Regions from separate parts of the Homo sapiens genome. Here region 2 is linked to region 1. Evidence: promoter capture Hi-C in 16 types of primary human blood cells and fetal thymus (Javierre and others, 2016). All regions are on one chromosome and are shown on one strand. Each heading gives the region's core, a stretch centred on a gene start or on the middle of the fragment in contact. The rest is flanking DNA. Distances are from core to core; before and after follow the strand shown. Region 1 holds the start of SEMG1 (semenogelin 1). Region 2 holds the start of SPINT4 (serine peptidase inhibitor, Kunitz type 4).

Region 1 (5,202 bases), core at 1,765-4,264:
AGAACAGCCATTTTAAATTCTCTTTCAGGCAGGTCATACATCTCCATGTCTTTGGGGCCAATCAATGGTATCTTATTTTGTTCATTTGGTACCTTATTTTGTTAATTTGGTGTCATCAGTTTTCCCCGATTGTTCTTGATCCTTGTGATTGTGCATTGATGTCTGCACATTGAAGAAGTAGGTACTTATTGAATTGCAGGTAGGTACTTGAATGCAGATATTGAATTTAAGGTAGGTACTTACTCCAGTTTGGCTTTGTCTGAGAATGTCCCTCAACTCTGTCCGGAAATTCTAGGCAGATCATCTGTTCTAGGTTTGTAAGCCTGTGACTGTTTCAGTCATTGCAGCACAAGGAGATGTCATAAACCCAGGACCACCATGGCCAGTTCTGCACCAGGCTGTAACCCATGGCTGCAGAGGCTGGCACAATGATGGAATGCATTCCCAACTCCTCCTCACTGATACCTGCCTACGTATGTTGGTTATTCATAATCCAAGGCTGCTGTAGTTGGCTGCCAGTGGTACAGGTAAGAACGCAAGTCTATCTCACAGGAACTATGTGTTCCTCTCTGCTGCTGGGGCAGGTCTTGCTGCTTAGGCCACAGGTATTCAAGCAGGGTCACTATGGGTGTCCTCCCAGTGCTGAATTTTACTATTATAGACTAGTATTTTGTTCCGTGAAAAAGTCCAAGCCTTACTTCATTCCCTTCCCCCCAAAAGAAAGTAGCTCTCTCTGCACTGTGCTGCCTGTGATTGGGTTAGGGGTGATACAGGAAACAAAATTGTCTTTCGTGCCCTCTTCAATGTGTATTTTTAATTATTATACTATAATCAGGTTCTGTAATATCTCATCTGGCCTGTTTAGCTTTTGAGAAACTATTATCATATGTGGATAATTATTAAATTCGACGTTTTGGAGGGTATAATCTCTGGGGAGTCCTACTCTACCAGGTTTTTCTGCCCATTCCCCAAAAATAACTATATTTGAATCTTTTCTAAGTTGTAAAGTGATTTCCCATAGAATTGAGCAAAATACATTTAAGTCCTCCTGTTTTCTTCTTTTCCTATGAGTATAAAACTTTCAGATTTTTGTGCCAATTTAGTGCACTTTAATATTTTTGCATTTTTTATTTGTCCAACAGGACAAATCATTTGATCACTTAATCTTTTCCCCCATCATAATTCCATATCTAAGATGTATGCATCACCATACCATTTTTATGCTTTCCAAATCACTGATTTCTGATTTCAACTTTATCAATACATTCCTTTATCATTTGGAAATGTTTTTTTCCACATTTCATTGAATTCAATTCTAATATGAATATAGTAATCACATGTTTTGCTTGGATTGCATTTTCCTGGTTTGTTTTTGCAAATATTGTGCCCTTTTGTTTTATCTGCATCTTTTGGACACTAGATGAGATGAAAGTTTTGTTCTTGATCCATAAGTAAGATTAATATTTCAGACTCTATTTTGTATCAGTAAGTTTGGAACAGAACAGTTTCTGGTATTTTCTTAAGGGAAGTGTGAGGAAGATTACAGTGGTTAGCAGACACAGTAATCAATTTTAGTTCAGAACAATATCACCTTACTCTGTTGGGGTTTCTGCAATAAGGAACTACTTACTGCCTTTGAGGCAAACAGATAAATTTGGTAAGATCTCAGAGTGGCTCATAGAGAAACCATGCAGCTCACATGATTTATGTTTGATAGCATAGCACTTTTTTTCTGTGGTTGGCCTTTCTCTTTTCCCCTTCCATAGAGCATTGCCTACAGGAAGGTTAAGATTCTAAGACAGAATAATTGAAAATAAGTTTTCAAGCTATCCTTTCCCCAGCACTACCCTCCAAGGTGTTCTGAATGTACACAGGGACACTGTTGGGATGCTTTCTTCTTCTCCTGTGGTCTGCTCATAACGAAGTCTTTATGACTCAAAGTAAAGAAAGTTTCTTCAGACTTTTCAGGATGTCATCACAATTGGAAAAATCTATGCTTCTACCAAAGGTGGGAATTTTAGCTTCATGTCCACTCACAATACATTATTCAATTCATTGATGGTGGCAAATATTTCTCACAGCCTGTTTGGGGATTCAGCTGTTTACTACTGAAGTAGAAACTTCTCTTAATTAAAAAGAAAATTCTGCTGTTTAGGTAGATTTCATGAAAAGAACCCAATCTAGAAACCAGCATTTTTACTTTTTTTCCAACAGTTGTTCCTATCACCATGAAAGCATATTAAAATTCTTTCATCCTTTGAAAACACATCTGGAACTTACCTCACCCTCCAGATACAGCCTCAGCTCTCACTCCACCATGAATTCAGACTTCCTGAGAAGGTTGCAGCTGGTCTCCATCCTTCAACTGACAACCCAATGCAATTGTATTCATCTCTCATTAAAGTTACTAGCAACAACTAAGAAAAACTTTGGATACATGTCAGTCTTTATTGTGTTGAACTTGACAGACATATTTGACATTGGAGTGCCCCATTTACTTGTTTAAAATTTCTTTCTTTGGATTCCATAACGTTTCATTATCTTCTATATCATTGGACTTCTATGATTGCTCATTCTTAGGTAAAATAGAACGTGTCTCAAGATCATTTTTAAAACAAAAGGAAGTATGGAGTTCTATCTAAAATAGAGTATTTAAATTATTGCATCATGAAGGGAAACTCACATTTAGAATATAAAGGCATTCTCAGAAACCAATTGCTTTTGTAGCCTGAAGCCAGTCTCTTTCCTACTTTTGTCTATAATTCTGTAAAATTAAAGTGATCTGGCATGATGATCTAAAAGGACTGATAAAAATTTGCTGGGGCTGCCAGAAGAAAGAAAATGCCTTTGACATTATGTTGCTGGGGACATTGACTTTGTCCCACACTCAGCAGGGGTGAGGAAGTTGGCATTTACTGATAAGCTAAGAAAAGTCAGTGCCTTTTGTAATTTAAGCTCCACCCATGGCACACTCACTCAAGGAAGATATAAATGACAAGGTCGGCTCAGCTCTCAGACAAGGTTTTCCAAGCAAGATGAAGCCCAACATCATCTTTGTACTTTCCCTGCTCCTCATCTTGGAGAAGCAAGCAGCTGTGATGGGACAAAAAGGTGAGTGGAGAGGGTAAGCCTTGGGGAAAGCTGCTCAGACAGCTAATAATCTAAGATTATTTGGGGTGCAAACAGTAACCTGTTTAGGCACAGATTCTTCTCTTTGAAGAGAATTGATTTTCTCCACCCAAAGCTTCAGCTTTTCTAGAAATATCAATAATTTGTTGGGGGAAAAGTGGGGGGTAAGAGTTGTAAGGGAGCTTTGGAGATAATGAATGCATACCTTCTTATTATCAATTACCAGGTGGATCAAAAGGCCGATTACCAAGTGAATTTTCCCAATTTCCACACGGACAAAAGGGCCAGCACTATTCTGGACAAAAAGGCAAGCAACAAACTGAATCCAAAGGCAGTTTTTCTATTCAATACACATATCATGTAGATGCCAATGATCATGACCAGTCCCGAAAAAGTCAGCAATATGATTTGAATGCCCTACATAAGACGACAAAATCACAACGACATCTAGGTGGAAGTCAACAACTGCTCCATAATAAACAAGAAGGCAGAGACCATGATAAATCAAAAGGTCATTTTCACAGGGTAGTTATACACCATAAAGGAGGCAAAGCTCATCGTGGGACACAAAATCCTTCTCAAGATCAGGGGAATAGCCCATCTGGAAAGGGAATATCCAGTCAATATTCAAACACAGAAGAAAGGCTGTGGGTTCATGGACTAAGTAAAGAACAAACTTCCGTCTCTGGTGCACAAAAAGGTAGAAAACAAGGCGGATCCCAAAGCAGTTATGTTCTCCAAACTGAAGAGCTAGTAGCTAACAAACAACAACGTGAGACTAAAAATTCTCATCAAAATAAAGGGCATTACCAAAATGTGGTTGAAGTGAGAGAGGAACATTCAAGTAAAGTACAAACCTCACTCTGTCCTGCGCACCAAGACAAACTCCAACATGGATCCAAAGACATTTTTTCTACCCAAGATGAGCTCCTAGTATATAACAAGAATCAACACCAGACAAAAAATCTCAATCAAGATCAACAGCATGGCCGAAAGGCAAATAAAATATCATACCAATCTTCAAGTACAGAAGAAAGACGACTCCACTATGGAGAAAATGGTGTGCAGAAAGATGTATCCCAAAGCAGTATTTATAGCCAAACTGAAGAGAAAGCACAGGGCAAGTCTCAAAAACAGATAACAATTCCCAGTCAAGAGCAAGAGCATAGCCAAAAGGCAAATAAAATATCATACCAATCTTCAAGTACGGAAGAAAGACGACTCCACTATGGAGAAAATGGTGTGCAGAAAGATGTATCCCAACGCAGTATTTATAGCCAAACTGAAAAGCTAGTAGCAGGCAAGTCTCAAATCCAGGCACCAAATCCTAAGCAAGAGCCATGGCATGGTGAAAATGCAAAAGGAGAGTCTGGCCAATCTACAAATAGAGAACAAGACCTACTCAGTCATGAACAAAAAGGCAGACACCAACATGGATCTCATGGGGGATTGGATATTGTAATTATAGAGCAGGAAGATGACAGTGATCGTCATTTGGCACAACATCTTAACAACGACCGAAACCCATTATTTACATAAACCTACCATTCGGTAACCATGTGAAAGGATGGACCAATATCAAGGTAATTTTTTTTTAGCAAATAGGGGAGATATCTCTCTCATTGTTTAGAATTGTTGGGGACTCTCCAGGACTTTTGTGGGATTGATAACCATTGTTCGCACCAATAGAAGTGCTGTATAACAAGTGGTAGGAAGATGAGCCTCCCCATTCCCTGGTGAGGAGAGGGTCTGGTAGTGGCACAGAAGGATGTTTGGCCTATCATGAGGTCCTAGAATTCCTATCCTTAATTGAATATTCTTCAATAATATTTTTTTGTATATGCCTACCTGCTAAAGGTTTTTTTGAACAGGTACTGACTACATATGCATATTTATAAGTTTATGGTATACTCTTGTCAGTTCTTATACTTTAGATTAGTAAACCTCAGTTTCTTTCCTATATAGTATAAAGGATTACAGCCATTAATGTTTTCTTTCTGCACACCAGTGAATGTTCTTGCATCCCTGTTAGGGTTCATCTATGCTCCTTCAGAGACCACAAGCCCAAAGACT
Region 2 (4,874 bases), core at 1,484-3,983, 520 kb after region 1:
GCAGAAAATTGAAACTGGACTCCTTCCTTATACCACATACAAGAATTAACTCAAGATGGATTAAAGACTTAAATGTAAAACCCAAAACTACAAAACCCCTAGAAGAAAATCTAGGCAATACCATTCAGGACGTAGGCATGGGCAAAGATTTCATGATGAAAACACCAAAGCAATTGCAACAAAAGCAAAAATTGACAAATGGGATCTAATTAAACTAAAGAGCTTCTGCACAGCAAAAGAAACTATCATCAGAGTGAACAGACAACCTACAGAAATGGAGTATATTTTTGCAATCTATCCGTCTGACAAAGTTCTAGTATCCAGAGTCTACAAGAAACTTAAACAAATTTATAAGAAAAAAACAAACAATCCCATTAAAAAGTGGGCAAAGGACTTGAACAGGCACTTCTCAAAAGAAGACATATATGTGGCCAACAAACATATGAAACAAGGCTCAACATCGCTGATCATTAGAGAAACGAAAATCAAAACCACAATGAGATACCATCTCATACCAGTCAGAATGGTGATTATTAAAAAGTAAAAAAAAAAACAAAAAACACAGATGCTGGAGAGGTTGTAGAGAAAAAGGAACACTTTTACACTGTTAGTGGGCGTGTAAATTAGTTCAACTATTGTGGAAAACAGTGTGGAGATTCCTCAAAGATCTAGAGGCAGAAATACCATCTGACCCAATAATCCCATTACTGGGTATATACCCAAAGGAACATAAATCATTCTATTATAAAGACACATGCATGCATATGTTCATTGCAGCACTATTCACAATAGCAAAGACATGAATCAATCCAAATGCCCATCAATGATAGACTGGATAAAGAAAATGTGATACTGAAATATATATATATACACACACACACCATGGAATTCTATGCAGCCATAAAAAGAAATGAGATCATGTCCTTTGCAGGGATATGGATGGAGCTCGAAGCAGTTATCCTCAGCAAACTAACACAGGAGCAGAAAACCAAACACTGCATGTTCTCACTTACAAGTGGTAGCTGAATGATGAGAACACATGGACACATAAGTGGAACAACACACACTGGAGCATATCATGGGGGTGGTAGGGAGAGGGAGAACATCAAGAAGAATACCTGGTGAATGCTGGGCTTAATACCTAGGTGTAGGGATGATCTGTGCAGCAAATCACCATGGCACACATGGTTTATGTATGTAACAAACCTGCACATCCTGCACATGTACCGCTGAAATTAAAATAAAAGTTGAAGATTTTTTTAAAAGATAGCATTTACAATAATATTAAAAATATAAATAAGATTGTAACACCTGCATGAGAAATGTCATAAACCTTTCTTTAAAATATTAATGAAGGTCAAAATAGATGGAAATATATATATCAAAGACAATATTATAAGGATATCATTCTTTTCCAATTGATTTGTAGATCCAGTGCAATTCAAATGAATATCCAAAATAGGTGTTTTGTTTTTGTTTTTGTTTTTGTTTTCGTTTTCGGTCAGAGTCTTGCTCTGTCACCCAGGCTGGAGTGCAATGGCACAGTCTCAGCTCACTACAACCTCTGCCTCCCAGTTCAAGCAATTCTCATGCCGCAGCCTCCCAAGTAGCTGAGATTACAGGAACTCACCACCATAACCAGCTAATTTTTGTATTTTTAGTAGAGACGGGGTTTTGCCATGTTGACCAGGCTGGTCTCCAACTCCTGACCTCATGGGATTCACCCACCTCAGCCTCCCAAAGTGCTGGGATTACAGGCATGAGCCACCACGCCTGGCCCGAAACAGGTCTTTTGAATAACTTGATAAACTGACTAAAATTTATATGAAAATACAAAATCCTAAGATAAACAAAGTTCAAGAGATTAAGTGTGGCTTTGGAGTGGGGGTATACAGTGGAGTGAAATAAAGGGCTCAGAAGCAATCCCACATAATTAAGCAAAATTATTTTGCAGTTAAATAGAAGAGGAACTCATTAATAAATAGGTCTGGAACCACTGAAAAATGAAAAAGGATCCTTATGTTATACCTTACCAAAAAATCAACATCAGGTGGTTTTAGGGTGTAAAGGTAAGCCAAAACTTCAAAACTTTTAGGAGAAAACAGATCCAAGATGTCCTCATGTTCCTAGATAACATAGTGTAGTGTGACTAAGAACAAAAACTCTGAAGCCAAGTTCAAATCTTGTCTCTACCACATAATAAATGAGTGACCTTGTACATGTAACCTAATCTCTGTCTCCATTTCATCCTTAAATGATGGTAATAACTGTACTTACTTCATAGGGTGTATATGATGATAAAGTATATACAAATTACTTAAAAATAGCACCTGGAATTAAGTAGTACTCTAGGTTATAACTAACCCTGTTACTATTATTATAGTGCTATTGCACTCTTTCTCTTGTGCCATGATTAGTTTCTTCTGTGCATAAAAGGTCAAAAAGAGAAAGGAAGAAATCCCTTTTTAATTCCTCACTCTGATGATTCTACCCTTCATGATTAAATATATGCAGAAGCTCTGATCCTTAAGTTTCTATTGCTTCTAGATGAACATGGGACTCACTATCAAGGGTCTAATCAGTTTGGGGCCTTCAGCTTCATGGCTGGGTACCCAAGCACTCACTGTTCAACTCAACACCTAGTAATGTCCAGTCCTGGCCCTTGGGGTAGGTGAGCTCAACCGTCTCAAGTATCAAGCCCAAAATATAACATCAGGTGATACCACAACTATCCTGCCTGCTGCTTGCTGCACCATGAAGTCTGCCAAGCTGGGATTTCTTCTAAGATTCTTCATCTTCTGCTCATTGAATACCCTGTTATTGGGTGGTGTTAATAAAATTGCGGAGAAGATATGTGGAGACCTCAAAGGTATGAAGCTAAGGCAGAAAATAAATCCAAAGGTCAATTATGAATGAGAGAGAAGGTATTGGGAGAAAAGTGTGTTATCTAGGTAGTCCAGGAAGGTCTTCCTTTCATGACAATACCCATAGACACTTAGTCCCTTGACTCAGGGCATTACTTACACTAGGGGTCCTCTGGATGTTTGATGAGAAAAAACAGAAATGACACAAAGTCCTTTCCAGATGGAGACCTCTTTTATAGGAGGTCCAAAGGACTGGAAGTATTTTGAATCAGAGGTTGTGTGACAAATTTCAAAGATCCCAGACCATTGATGATTATGTATTGGGATGAGAGAGAAAGGGGGTTGGAGACAGAGCAAATTAAGACATTTTCAGTATCTGGGCTATGGACATATACAGAACTCTTGGACAGATGATTCCTGTTTAGAGGAGCTCACAATGTAAATGTGAGAGGCAATGAGACTTTCTTCCATAGATAGTGTGTGAAGGCTCAGCGCTTCCAGGGGACGAGAAAGTAGCACAGTTTATACCGTAAGTCAGACACTTCAAGTTCTGGACCTGTTCACTTAGCAGATATGTGCCCTTGGACAAGTCACTCAACCACTTATTATTCTCTTAGTCTCAGTTTCCCCATGTGTAAAATGAAGATCAGAAAAGTGCCTGCTGCAGAGGGTGTTTGTGAGTATGAAATAAGATTATGCACATAACTTTACCAGAGAGTAAATTCCAGGCTGGCTGCTTGAGTAAGGTGGATTGTCAATACAACCATGATTGTGGCTGTTCCAACCACTTACTACCCAACTCTTAACAATAAAAACAGAGGGTTTGCCTCTGAGAAGGCAAGAAAGGAGAAGATGACGGGGTATGAGGATGAACGAGCATCACCCCAAGGTTATGCATTTTAGCATTTTAGTATGCATCCTGCTTTAAAGATAGCAGCAGCCATGGTTACTTAAATTTTGAAGTATAGGTAGTATAGTGAATGTATGAAACTGGGGAGGAGGCACTCTGAATTGCATGTCCTATGTGGGCAATTAAAAGGAAAGGAAGATGATGTGGGGAAGCAGGAGGATACTGTACTTTAATAAACTGTAAGATAGGAAATGTAGGGAAGCTCATCGCCCTGCACAAGCTAGTGGTGGAACCTCCTTTTTCACTGATCACTACTTCTCCTTCTCCAATACACTGCTCACGACAACAACCTGGAATTTTAACCAATTTGCATTGTGCAAGGGCAACATTTCCAAGCAACTCTAACTCCAAGAGAAAACCACATCTTTCAGAGTCCTTGAATATGAGAATAGTTCCAGGCTAAACGTAGGAATTTTTAAGGGCCCATAAAGACAAGTTCTCCTGCTGAGTCCTTACCAATTCCCACTAACTCAATGGGAACCTCTCATGCAGATCCCTGCAAATTGGACATGAATTTTGGAAGCTGCTATGAAGTTCACTTTAGATATTTCTACAACAGAACCTCCAAAAGATGTGAAACTTTTGTCTTCTCCGGCTGTAATGGCAACCTTAACAACTTCAAGCTTAAAATAGAACGTGAAGTAGCCTGTGTTGCAAAATACAAACCACCGTAAGGAATCTAATCCTGTCCTTGGTCCTTGGGGGTAGTAAAAGAAGAGGTTTTGACATCCTAAGATAGAGAAAATTGATCAGGGGCTAACCTTGCTTGGAGTGGGAAGAGGGAGGATTGCTCAAATAAGAAGTTTTAACAGTTGGGTTGGCCGGGCGCAGTGGCTCATGCCTGTAACCCCAGCACTTTGGGAGGCTGAGGTGGGTGTATCACCTGAGGTCAGGAGTTCAAGACCAGCCTGACCAACATGGAGAAACCCCATCTTTACTAAAAATACAAAATTAGCCAGGCATAGTGTCGCATGCCTGTAATCCCAGCTACTCGGGAGGCTGAGGCAGGAGAATCACTTGAACCCGGGAGGGTTCAAGAAGTTCAGAGGGTTCAGAGGTTGCGGCGAGCCGAGATCGCGCCATCCATTGCACTCCAGCCT

Evidence for each region. Contacts are between HindIII fragments. The CHiCAGO score rates a contact against its expected background, and 5 or more counts as called.
Region 2: the fragment with the promoter of SPINT4 here is called in contact with the fragment with the promoter of SEMG1 in region 1 in 6 of 17 cell types (M1 macrophages, endothelial precursors, M2 macrophages and 3 more); the score reaches 7.3 in M1 macrophages.

The regions. Positions count from the first base shown.
Region 1 is chr20:45,204,019-45,209,220 of GRCh38, forward strand. It overlaps SEMG1 (semenogelin 1), which reads left to right and starts at 3,015. Exons shown (of 3, transcript NM_003007.5): 1 at 3,015-3,111; 2 at 3,356-4,712. The coding sequence starts at 3,036. The coding sequence ends at 4,668. The HindIII fragment of the contact is 3,637 bases long and covers 1-3,242 here.
Region 2 is chr20:45,719,614-45,724,487 of GRCh38, forward strand. It overlaps SPINT4 (serine peptidase inhibitor, Kunitz type 4), which reads left to right and starts at 2,734. Exons shown (of 3, transcript NM_178455.3): 1 at 2,734-2,869; 2 at 4,267-4,444. The coding sequence starts at 2,755. The HindIII fragment of the contact is 5,556 bases long and covers 1-4,395 here.